Linked DNA regions of Homo sapiens: region 2 is linked to region 1. The links are contacts of gene promoters, found by promoter capture Hi-C in blood cells and fetal thymus (Javierre and others, 2016). All regions are on one chromosome and are shown on one strand. Each heading gives the region's core, a stretch centred on a gene start or on the middle of the fragment in contact. The rest is flanking DNA. Distances are from core to core; before and after follow the strand shown. Region 1 holds the start of CLEC18A (C-type lectin domain family 18 member A). Region 2 overlaps WWP2 (WW domain containing E3 ubiquitin protein ligase 2).

Region 1 (6,462 bases), core at 1,794-4,293:
ATAGGTGTGAGTGAGCTACTACGCCTGGCCTGGACATGTAATTTTTAAAAGAAAATGTGGCCACAACTCTCCTAGAGTTAAATGTTTTTTTTGTTTGTTTGTTTGTTTGTTTTTTGAGACCATCAACAAGATTTCAAGGCTTTAAAGAAAGGAGCTGCTTCAGGAAGAGATAAAATGACTCGAACGCTATAACCTTCAAATGCAGACTGGGAGAAGAGGTATCAGCTATGCATGAGCTGGAGAGGGGTGGGATAGATAGAGACACAGGTGATAAAGAAAATACAGCAAAATGTGAACCCTACAATCTGGGTGGTGGATGTAAACCCTGTAGTAGCCTCACCTGGGGAAAGCTGCCTTGCAACAATGAGGCTGCCCATTCTCCAAACCCACCCCAGCCACCGAGCAGGCTCCACTAAAAAGTCTGAACCCAGGAGGGAGTACCATGGAAACCAAGTTGCAATGCCCTGGTTAGGGGCCCAGCAGAGGGGTCATCCCAGCTCTACGCCATTGGATACTGAGTTTCAGGAGTGGGAGTGCCATCCTCAGGGTCACACAGCGTGTCGGTTCCAGCCTAGGTCTTCCAGTGTCTCATTAATCTTTTATCCACTCAGCTTCTCTTCTGGCCCATGAACCTTGCTCTCCTGGGACTCTTTTTTTTTTTTTTTGAGGGGTCGGGGGTGGGACAGAGTCTTGCTCTGTTGCCCAGGATGGAGTGCAGTGGTGCCATCTTGCTTCACTGCAACCTCCGCCTCCCAGATTCAAGCAATTCTCCTGCCTCAGCCTACCGAGTAGCTGGGACTACAGGCACCCACCACCCTGCCCAGCTAATTTTTGTATTTTTAGTAGAGACAGGATTTCACCATGTTGGCCAGGCTGGTCTCGAGCTCCTGACCTCAAGTGATCCGCCTGCCTTGGCCTCCCAAAGTTCTGGGATTACAGGCATGAGCCATCACACCCGGCCTGGGACTCTTCTTGCAGTGAGCCAGGGCCATGGGACCCTTCAAAAGTTGCTCCACCCTAATCCCCAAAATATCTTTTTCTCCCGCCTGTCCCAAGTGCCTGGCATCATACTATATGGGTCAACTGGCCGTGTTTGCCATGGAAGCCCAATTGTAGGAAGTGGGTCTTTTATCACCCGGCATAGCAGAGCTGTGGAAACTGCACTGGGAAAGATCAGGATGTGAATTAAAGCGTTGGGAATGGGAAGGCAGAGACCTTGGATTAGCTGGGATGCTCCATGCACTCGCTGAGTGACCTTGGACAAGCCCCTTAGACACACTAAGCCCGTTTCCTCATCTACACGACGGGCATCCCATCTGCTACTGCACCAGGTTCTTGTGGCAATAACTTGAACTCACACATGCAAACAGGCTTTGTGAGCTCCATAAACACAGGTGGCTTGGCCAGGTGTGGTGGCTCATGCCTGCAACCCCAGCACTTTGGGAGGCCAAGGTGGGAAGATCCCTTGAGCCCAGGAGTTGGAGACCAGCCTGGGCAAGACGATGAAATCCTGTCTCTACCAAAAAAAATGATAATAATTAGCCAGGCATGGTGGCACACACCTGGTCCCAGCTCCTTGGGAGGCTGAGGTGGGAGGATCACTTGGGCCCAAGAGGTCAAGGCTGCAGTGAGCTGAGATTATAACACTCCAACCTGAGTGGCAGAGTGAAACTGTCTAAAAAATAAAAATAAAAATACATCAAAAAACAGGTAGCTATTAAGCATTGCTAGGACCCACACGCAGTGACCCTGAGGGTGCTGGGTTTCTGTTTGAGGGAGAAGAAACTCCTGAGCCCCTAGGTATTGTGGGGGACATGCAGTTCCAGACCGCCTTCATGGCCTGTATGCCTGGCCTCATCCCCATCCCTGGCATCCATGACGATAGCCACATTCCACTGGTGTTTCCCCAGGAAAGCCAACCCTACCTGCATCTCAGCAGAGCTTCCACAGAGTTGGAACCCCGCTCCGAGAGGGTGTGGGCTCAGGGGCCAGGGGTCACACAAACTCCAGAAGGAGGACGTAGTTGGTTTGCAAGGCTGTCCTTTGCCCTGGTTGAATAACCTTTGGTCTTCCCCGAGAGGAACGTGGGCATTAGGTTGCAGCCCGCAGGAAGCCATGTATTTTCTGAGAAACTTGGCCCATGGTGCAGATCTGCTCCAGCTCACTCTGGTGGGATCACGCCAGCCACGGCCGGGCCACGGCACATCATGGCAACGTGCTGCCCACCTGCTACGCCGCCTGTTTTTCTAGAGGCGGACGTGATCCCAGCAGGACTGGAGTCAGCCCAGGGCATCACGTGCTCTGGTCCCCGCCTGCTTTGACTCCTCCTGCCTCACTCCCCCCCTGGCCTGTAGTCACGTGGGTGAGGGTGGTGGGCACCGGGGCTGGGCCCAGCCCCCGACCCTGCCCAGACAGACTTTCCTAAGGCACCCTTTTCCTCGTGCAGGTGCGGCCTCAGCCCACCCCCCTTTGAGCCCACAGATTGCACCCCTCTGGTGTGCGGTTACCTCTTGCCTATGTTTAATTCATGGCTGGGGGGTTGGGACGAGCTTCCCAAGAAAGGAAAGAACTCCCCTGGGGTCTTGCCCAGTTCCTGCTCACCAGAAGGACCATAGCCGAGGTCCTCCTCCCAGGGCCCGGGGCTGGGGAGCGGAAGCCATCAGTGGGCTCGGAGGACACTGTCCCAGCCAGGACACGGCCATCGGTCACTAATCTGCAGCACTGGAATGTCCGCGGGCCAATCAGCGGGGTCTCTGGGGGCTCCCCAAGGGTGCTAATAATCCCACAATGATTAGCAGGGGCCGCGGGTCAGTGCACGCCACTCTGCCTGCTGTCGGGGGCGGGCTGGCCAGGCCGAGGCCGGAGCAGGCAGGCATCCCCCGGAGTTGTCTCTTTTCATGCCAGCGCCAACAGGAGGCTGTCTGGACACACTGATTACTCACTCACCAGCCTCCCTCTTTTGTCCACCAGCCCAGCCTGACTCCTGGAGATTGTGAATAGCTCCATCCAGCCTGAGAAACAAGCCGGGTGGCTGAGCCAGGCTGTGCACGGAGCGCCTGACGGGCCCAACAGACCCATGCTGCATCCAGAGACCTCCCCTGGCCGGGGGCATCTCCTGGCTGTGCTCCTGGCCCTCCTTGGCACCGCCTGGGCAGAGGTGTGGCCACCCCAGCTGCAGGAGCAGGCTCCGATGGCCGGAGGTAAGGGACACCTGGTGAGGAGGTAGGTGGAGGCACCATTACGAGCTCTGAGGAGTGGGTGCTAGGAGACTTCTGGAAGCCCGGTCCCAGGCCTGAGCCCCAGGCCGTGCGGGTGGTTTAATGAGGAAGCCCTGGGACAGCCCGGGGGCGGTGAGGGGTGGATGCTGGACTGGGGAGGAAGGAGGAGGAAGGAGGACCAGGGCTGGGGTCAAGGAGGAACGCCGAGGGGCGCTGTGGCTGGGGCCTGGAGAAATCCGTGGCCCGGAGGAGCCCCAGACAGGGGCCTGCGGGAGCCAGGGCTGGCCCCTACACCCAGCCCGCACCGCTGTTCCCTCCCGCCACCCCAACCCCAGCACTCAGCCCACGCCTGCTGTACCTGGTCTCTCTCTCAGCCTCGCTCCATTGCTATGCCCCACGTCCCCTGCACCCACCACACTCCTCTCCCATCTTGTTTTCCAAGGGCAGGGACACATGCTTATTCTGCCGTGTGTTGGGTTCAGGTCCCCCCATCCTCGGGCTGCCTGACCTTCTCTCCCCACCCCAGCCCTGAACAGGAAGGAGAGTTTCTTGCTCCTCTCCCTGCACAACCGCCTGCGCAGCTGGGTCCAGCCCCCTGCGGCTGACATGCGGAGGCTGGTGAGTACCCGACCCAGCTGGGCTCTGCCAGGGGGGTGGCCGGAGGCGCGGACCCCAGAGGGCGGCTCAGGAGGCCACGCCTGTCCAGGTGCCCTTCCACTTGACCAGGGTGGGCAGGCACAGCCAGCCACCTTGTCCCTGAGGGACGGAGGCCCTGGTTGCTGGGGGTCTCTGCAATTTCTTAACCCCCCACCCTCAGTTCAGGAGGTCGGGCCCCTTGGCTCCCACTCGCCTGAAGGGCAGGACCTTGGGCCTTCCCTGGCATCTTGTTGTCACAGAGACCAGGAGCCACAGGAGGAGCCGGATCCCCTCCTCCAGGGAAGGGGAGCTTCACGAGGAGCCCTGCAGGATGGGCGGCCGGGCCAGGGAGGGAGAAGGTCGTGCTGGGCTGGGGAGGGGCTTCTGTGCGGCAAGGACCCAGCGCCTCCTCCTGAGCTTATCTGAGCCACGAGGACGGGCCTTGCCCATGTTCTCTGCTCACTCACTCGTCCACATTTTCCACATTTTCAGCAGGGGCCGGGGGTCGGGGGTATAGAATTCCCCACCAGCCCGGCTGGGGCTGCGGGGTTGGGACTGTCATCTGGAGGCTCAGAAACGCTGCCCCCCCTTGTCTGGGACCCCAGCAGCCCCAGCCCATGTTAGCAGGCCAGGGAGCCAGGGCAGGGTGGTGGGGGCGGGAGGGTTCCCCATGGCTGCTTCCCATGAACTCCTCCAAGGCAGGCGGCCACAGTGGCGACCTTGAGCACTCTAGGGTCAGTTTCCCAGGAGGTGGGGGTGGGGTGGCTAAATGCGGGGGGTCGCTTCTCCCCGATTCCCAGCCCTGAGTGGCTCTGCCTCTCCTCAGGCTCAGACCCTGGGCAACCAGGGGTGCTCCCAGCTGTGACCTCCGTGGTTGGGTACTCCTGCCTGGGACCCCAGGAGGGGCTGCGGTGGTCGTTGGCTGGCAGCTGGCACCCTTTCCAGGGCCCTTTTGTCAAAGTCCTAGAAAACTTCATTTCCGTAAAGGTGCAAATGGAGCTCCATGGCTCAGCCTCCCTCGTGGCCCGGCCCCGAGCACCCTCCGGGCCTCTAGGGCTCCAGGGCACCCCCTCTTTGGACACAGTGGAGACTGAAGGTCTTGTGGGGGTGGAGGGCTGCTGAGGGACCCCGGGGAGCCCCCAGCTCCTGGCCCCAGCCTTCATCAGAGGTAAAACCCCGATGGACATTAGTGCAGGATGAAGTTGGCTTGGGGTGCAGCCCCGAGGGGCCCCCCTCCCTGCATCCACTCAGTGCTTGTGAGTCCTATCCTGCAGGCACCTCCCTGCTCCGTTTACAGATGAGCTCAGGGAGTCTCGGGAGATCAGGGGACTGCACCAAGTCACCCAGGGGTGGTGATTGCCAGGCCCACTTGTTTAAGAAGAGGGAGGGGGCTGGGCACGGTGGCTCACACCTGTAATCCCAGCACTCTGGGAGGCTGACACAAGCAGATCACCTAAGGTCAGCAGTTTGAGACCAGCAATGGCCAACAGTGAAACCCCGTCTCTACTAAAAATACAAAAATTAGCCAGGCGTGGTGTCACATGGCTGTAATCCCAGCTGCTTGGGAGGCTGAGGCAGGAGAATTGCTTGAACCTGGGAGGCGGAGGTTGCAGTAAGCCGGGATTTCTCCACTGCACTCCAGCCTGGGCGACAGGGTGAGACTGTCTCAAAAAAAAAAAAAAAAAAAAGAAGAGGGAGGGGGCGGGGTCAGCTGTGCGTGGTGGGGAGCATATGAGGCCGGGCTCCTGGGGGCAGGAGACTAGGGCAGAGAGGCGTGGCTGTAGGGCTTTTTGCATCACAGGAGGGCAGCATGGCCGGGTGGGAGCAGTGGAGCCTTTCTGACAATGGCCAGGGCCCAAACACAGAACCAGTCTGCAACGCGTGGGCACTGCTCACATGACCAGATGGGAGAAAGACAGCAGGAGCGGGTCCCATTGCCTGGGCAGGGCCGAAGGATGCCCACGACAGGATTTGGAGATGGAGGCTCAGTCGTGAGAGGAGCTGGGCTCCTCCTGGAGGGACATCAGACAACACCAGTGCTTCCTCCAGCAGGACTCCTCATCCAGTGCTCTCTTTGCCACCTGACCTGGCACCCGGTGGATGCTCAGAGATGGCAGGGGAGTTGAATCTTTGAGGCCTGGCCCAGCAGTCAAAGGCCTCCCACAGATGTCTGTTTGTGCTGCCCCCAGGACTGGAGTGACAGCCTGGCCCAGCTGGCTCAAGCCAGGGCAGCCCTCTGTGGAACCCCAACCCCGAGCCTGGCGTCCGGCCTGTGGCGCACCCTGCAAGTGGGCTGGAACATGCAGCTGCTACCCGCGGGCTTGGTGTCCTTTGTCGAAGTGGTCAGCCTATGGTTTGCAGAGGGGCAGCGGTACAGCCACGCGGCAGGAGAGTGTGCTCGCAACGCCACCTGCACCCACTACACGCAGGTGAGTGTGCTGCAGGTGAGGCCAGTGTGCCAGCTCCCAGATACAGACTTCCACTGGGCCATCTCAGAAGAGGCTACAGTTTGTCCTAAATGTTGGGATTCCTTTTCCTCCAATTGGTTTAGTTTTACTTTTTTTTTTTTTTGATACGGAGTCTTGCTCTGTTGCCCAGGCTAGAGTGC
Region 2 (6,290 bases), core at 3,346-5,845, 170 kb before region 1:
TGGCCTCTGGGAAGACGCTAGTGTCGCTACTACTTTGTTTCCTTAGCAACAGTCCTGACGGGGAGCTCCTTCATTGTATTCTGTTCCTACCGATACACGTTGCTCCTTTTTTTTTTTTGAGATGACTCTCATGCTGTCGCTCAGGCTGGAGTGCAATGGCACAATCTTGGCTCACTGCAACCTTCGCCTCCCAGGTTCAAGTGATTCTCCTGCCTCAGCCTCCCAAGTAGCTGAGATTACAGGCACTCACTACCACACCCAGATAATTTTTTTATTTTTAGTAGAGATTGGGTTTCACTATGTTGGCCGGGCTGATCTCGAACTCTTGACCTCATGTGGTCCACCCACCTCGGCCTCCCAAAGTGCTAGAATTACAGGCATGAGCCACCACGCCCAGCCACCTTTTCTTTTTTTTCTTTTGAAACAGGGTCTTCCTCTGTTGCTCAGGCTGGAGTGCAGTGGAGTGATTACAGCTCACTGCAGCCTTGACCTCCTGGGTTCTGGTGATTTCCCACCTCAGCCTCCTGAGTAGCTGGGACTACAGGCATGCACCACCATGTCTGACTAATTTTTTGTATTTTTTGTAGAAATGGGGTTTCTCTATGTTGCCTAGACTGGTCTCGAATTCCTGGGCTCAAGCAGTCTGCCCACATCAGCCTCCCAAAGTGCTTGGATTACAGGCATGAGCCACTACACCCAGCTGCCCCAGTTTTTCATTTGCATAATTTTCTATGCAAATTTTTTGCATTTTTTTAGTTCAGCCAAATTAGCTGAGGTCTAAAGCACTCCTTTTAGTGCAGTCACATTAGTTGAGGTTTCAACAAATTCATTAACAGTAAACCAGTGGTCCTCAACCCAGCTTCATATTAGGATCACTTGGGGAATTTTTAAATAACACAGCTGTCCCTGGCCCACCCCAGACCAATTAAATGGGAATCTCTGAGGGTAGGGTTTGGTGGTCAGTGTTGTTTTTTTTTAATGCTCCCCAGATAATTCAGATGTCTAGAAAGGATGGAGAACCACTGCTCCAAGGCATTTGATCCTTCATTAAGGATAATTTAACCTAACTCTACACATTCAATTACATCTGTTATCTTATTGTTATTCTTTCCATCTTACATTTCCACCCAACATTGGCCTCTTTCCTTCCTTGTATTCCCCAGACATGCTGTCACCTCAACAGCATTTTTTTTTTGAGACAGGGTCTTGCTCTGTCACCTAGCTGGAGTGCAGTGGCGTGATCATAGCTCACTGCAGCCTAGACCTCCCAGGCTCAAGCGATCCTCCCACCTCACCTCAGCCTCCCGAGTAACTGTGACTACAGGCATGTGCCACCATGGCTAATTTTTGTGGTTTTTGTTGAGACGAGGTTTTGCCCTATTGTTCAGGCTGGTCTCGAACTCCTGGATTCAAGTGATCCACCTGACTTGGCCTCCTAAGGTGCTGGGATTACATGCATGAGCCACCACTGCTGGCCATCATACCCTTTTATCTATCTGAATGTTTTGCAGATACTCTCAGTTTCTTCCTTCAGCTTCTTCAGATCTTTGCTCAAATGTCACCTTCTCAGTGAGACCTTCCTGTTCATGCCTTTTTAATTTCTATTTTGGCCAGGTGCTGTGGCTTACGTTTATAATCCCATCACTTTGGGAGGCCAAGGCAGGAGGATGGCTTGAGCCTAGGAGTTCAAGACCAGTCTGGACAACTTGGTAAAATCCTATCTCTACTAAAAATACCAAAATTAGCCAGGCATGGTGGCATGTACCTGTAACCCTAGCTACTCAGGAGGCTGAGGCATGAGAATCACTTGAATCTGGGAGGTGGAGGTGCAGTGAGCTGAGATCACGCCACAGCACTCCAGCCTGGGTGACAGAGCAAGACTGTCTCAAAAAAAAAAAAAAAAGAAAAGAAAAGAAAAAGTGAAAAGCATGCAAATTTATATCATATAAATTTACGTGACTAAGACCTGGAGAAACAGATAATGTGTATTTATGTTTAGGTTTGATGAAGAGTGGACAATCGTGGAGAAATACGATTGGACAAAAGGGGTATGATTGACTGGTAATACACTGGGGGAAATTTAACAAGTCCTATTTGTTCAGATTCTTCTCTGTGTCCTTTTGTTTTCAGAGAAGGATATTTCTTTCCTTGGGGTATAAGGAGGGCATCTCTCAAAGGAGGGTCATATGACCCGTTTCAGGGGAAGGTCAGAAAATCTTTCATAGGCTTTATGACCTGCTTTATGGGAGAAGGGTGAGAGGAAGCTGAGAGTGACTTCCTGCTTTTCCTGTTTTCTTAAATGCCAAGGTGTCATGTTTTGGGGTAAGGTATCTTAAACCCCATCAGCCATGTCCTGTCTACTGATGAGCCCATCAAGGCATTCTTCACTTCTATTACAGTGTTTATGATTTCTAGCATTTTCTGTTGACTCTTATAGTTGCTATATCTCTCCTTACATTGCCCATCTATTCTCATGTGTTGTCTGCTGTTTCCATTAGAGCCCTGAACCTAGTAATCATAGTTATTTTGCATTACCTGTTTGATTATTCTAAAATCTGTCCTATCTGAGTCAGGTTCTGATGCTTGCTTTATTTCTTTTTCACACTGTTTCTTCTTGCCTTTTAGTGTGTTTTGTAATTTTTCATTGAGAGCTAGACATTGACCTTCTTCCTGCTGATCAGTTCCTCTTCCTTACCCCTCCCTAGTTCTTGTTTAAAAAAGAAAGCTGGACATGATGTATTAGGTAATAGGAAATGAGATAAATAGTCCATTAGTATTGTTAGTATGGTGTTTCATGTTAATCTGGCTAAGAGTTGGTCTGTGTTTAATGATTGCTGTAACTGTTGGTATCTGAGGCTTCAAATTCCTCTAGTGTCCTTGTTTCTGTCTCCCCTGTTATCTTTGGTTTTCCCTAAAAACTCCTTCTTAAATAGAGTGTATGCCTTTCAGCCCTAATTCCCTGTTGTTGTACTGGAGCCCTGTTGGTGTGACAGCAAAGTATGGGGGAGGGGAAGCATTCTATAGCCTCATGGTCAAATCCTAGTCTTTTAGTGGGCCTGTGTCCCAGGCTATGACTGTCACTCATATTTAACTGTTTTTCTCCCCTTAGATGAAACAGAAAGGCTAAAGAGGGCTGGAGTCAGGGGACTTCTCTTCCACCAGGTAGGATAAGGCTCTGGTAAAGTCTTCTTCCCTGGAGAGTAGGCCATTGCTCTGGGCCTATTTCACTATGGTTACTTCCCACAACTAGAGCTAGGAGGGAATCTTTCTTGACTCTTTACCAGGATAATCTTGTAAAGAAGGATTTTTTCTTCTGTTTTATTCAGCAGTATACCACTAGCACCAAAACCAGTGCAGAGTACATAATAGATGCTCAATAAATATTTGTCAAATGAATGAATGCCTCTTATCTAAGCTCTAGAGATTGTTACCTAGATGTGGGAAGTTTCTTAACTTATAATGATAATAGGCCGGGCGCAGTGGCTTACGCCTGTAATCCCAGCACTTTGGGAGGCCAAGGTGGGCGGATCACCTGAGGTCAGGTGTTCGAGACCAGCCTTAACATGGAGAAACCCCGTCTCTACTAAAAATACAAAACATTAGCTGGGCGTGGTGGTGCATGCCTGTAATCCCAGCTACTCTGGAGGCTGAGGCAGGAGAATTGCTTGAACCTGGGAGGCGGAGGTTGTGGTGAGCCGAGATTGTGCCATTGCACTCCAGCCTGGGCAACAAGAGCGAAATTCCATCTCGAAAAAAAAAAAATAAAAAAAATTATAATAAACTGATGACATTTCTCTGAATGAAATTAGTCCCTAGTGTAGTATTTGCTTATTAGGTTCTGTAGTGTTTGTTTAATCTAAAACCCTACCTTAGATGGGATTGTTGTAGACCAGTAGTCTCAAGCTTTTTTGACTGCAACCTTTAGTAAGACATACATTTTATATCTTAAAACAGTATATGTGTGTGTGTGTATATATATGTATGTATATTTATTTTAAAACAGTATATGGATATATATATACACATATGTGTATATACAATACACATATGGATATATATACACATATGTGTATATACAATACACATATGGATATACACATATGTGTATATACAATATACATATGGAGATATCATATATGCACCTATTAATATATATACATGTATATTTATTTGGTAAAACTTTTTGTGAAATAATACTTTCCTTTGTGTGTGATATACTTTTATATTTTCTTTTTTTTTGAAACGGAGTCTCATTCTGTCACCCAGGCTGGAGTGCAGTGGTGCGGTCTTGGCTTATTGCAACCTCTGCCTCCTGGGTTCAAGCAATTCTCCTGCCTCAGCCTCCTTATTAACTGGGATTACAGGCACCTGCCACCACGACCAGATAATTTTTGTGTTTTTAGTAGAGATGGGGTTTCACCCTGTTGGCGAGGCTGGTCTCGAACTCCTGACCTCAAGCAATTCACCCACCTCAGCCTCCCAAAGTGTTGGGATTACAGGCATGAGCCACCGTGCTCGGCCTATATTTTCTTTTAAAAAAATCTTTTTATTTATTATAGTTTGGTATACAACTTTTATAGTTTCTACCCTATTAGTTTGTATTTTATTTTTAAAATGCTTGTCAAGATTTATGTAGAGGATAAGTTCAGAGGAAATATGTTGTTTGTATTTATATTATATATAAATATGTTATTTATATTTTTGAGACCAAGTGTGGTGGCTCATGCTTGTAATCCCATCACTTTGGGAGGCTGAGGTGGGAGGATTGCCTGAGCTCAAGAGTTCCAGATCAGCCTGAACAACATAGGGACCCCCTTCATCTGTACAAAAAATTTAAAAAATTAGGTGAGTCTGGTGGCTGGTGCCTGTAGTCCCAGCCTTTTAGAAGGCTGAGGTGAGAGGATTGCTTGAGCCCAGGAGGTTGAGGCTGCAGTGAGCCATGATTGTGCCACTGCACTCCAGCTTGGGGTGACAGAGTGAAACCCTGTCTCAAATATATATATATATATATACACACACACACACACATGTATATACATACACATAGATACACACACACACACATATATACATACACACTCATACTATAAATAAATATATATATATATATATATTTTTTTTTTTTTGAGAAATTTCAATAGATCTACCAGACTTAGTAAAGGGGGACATTTTGACTTTCCCATCCCCCTCCCAATAAGTCCATTAGTTTCTTCAATAATGAAATACTTTGTTCATCTGGTAACCTTTAGTTATATTTTAAACATTGACCCCCTTCTCCCTCTTCCAGCAAAGCTTATGCTCACTCAGAGTTTTGGAGTGATTAGGATGCAATTACTTTCCATGGCTATTAGCAGGGGAGAAATTACTTGAGTACGTGTACGGAGTCATCTGTTCGTGTTGCTGAGACAGAGTGTGAAGTCTGGGCCTCAGGTTTCCTAAGCTTCTTGTAGTGGATAGTGGGGATTTGGACCTAATACGCATTAGGAACCTTGTCTAAGATGGGAGGCAAAAGCTGAGAGGTCGAAAGTACTTTGATGGGGATGGGATCTGTTCCTTTCTATAGTTACGGTTATTTCTCTTGAGACAGAGTCTCGCTCTGTTGCCCAGGCTGGAGTGCAGTGGTGCGATCTCGGCTCACTGCAACGTCCACCTCCCGGGTTCAAGCAATTCTCCTGCCTCAGCCTCCCGAGTAGCTGGGATTATAGTTGCGCCACCACTCCTCGCTAATTTTTGTATTTTTCATAGAGACGGGGGTCTCACCATGTTGGCCAGGCTGGTCTTGAACTCCTGCCCTCAAGTGATCCGCATGCCTGAGCCTCCCAAAGTGCTGGGATTACAGGTGTGAGCTGTCACACCTGGCCGGTTATTTATTTATTTATTTATTTTTTGAGATGGAGTCTCGCTCTGTTGCCCAGGCTGGAGTGCAATGGTGCAATCTTGGCTCACTGCAACCTCCACCTCCTAGGTTCAAGAAATTCTCCTGCCTCAGCCTCCCAAGCAGCTGGGATTACAGGTGCCCGCCACCACACCCGGCTAATTTGTTATATTTTTAGTAGAGATGGGGTTTCACCATGTTGGCCAGGCTGGTCTCAAACTTCTGACCTCAGGTGATCCACCTGCCTCGGCCTCCCGAAGTGCTGGGATTACAGGCGTGAGCCACTGTGCGTGGCCCCGGCCGGTTATTTTTCTTTATGCATCAATTGGAAAGGTTTTACAATTCCAAATGCCTACATTATATAATGTCAGGGTGGTATCTTGCTCATTAGATCTGGAACTCCAGACAAAGCTCT

The links. The method cuts DNA at HindIII sites, captures the fragments that hold promoters and counts their contacts. A CHiCAGO score of 5 or more calls a contact.
Region 2: a contact is called between a fragment that was not itself captured here and the fragment with the promoter of CLEC18A in region 1, in 1 of 17 cell types (endothelial precursors). The highest score is 6.8, in endothelial precursors.

Annotation. Positions count from the first base shown.
Region 1 is chr16:69,948,291-69,954,752 of GRCh38, forward strand. CLEC18A (C-type lectin domain family 18 member A) reads left to right here and starts at 3,044. Exons shown (of 12, transcript NM_001370523.4): 1 at 3,044-3,200; 2 at 3,745-3,836; 3 at 6,044-6,283. The coding sequence starts at 3,077. RefSeq lists enhancers at 1,751-2,364, 2,365-2,977, 4,204-4,817. The HindIII fragment of the contact is 42,237 bases long and covers 1-6,462 here.
Region 2 is chr16:69,773,080-69,779,369 of GRCh38, forward strand. The region is part of intron 1 of WWP2 (WW domain containing E3 ubiquitin protein ligase 2); the gene reads left to right. Among named protein-coding and RNA genes, the nearest start is that of WWP2, 14 kb to the left of the region's middle. RefSeq lists an enhancer at 205-404. The HindIII fragment of the contact is 1,389 bases long and covers 3,902-5,290 here.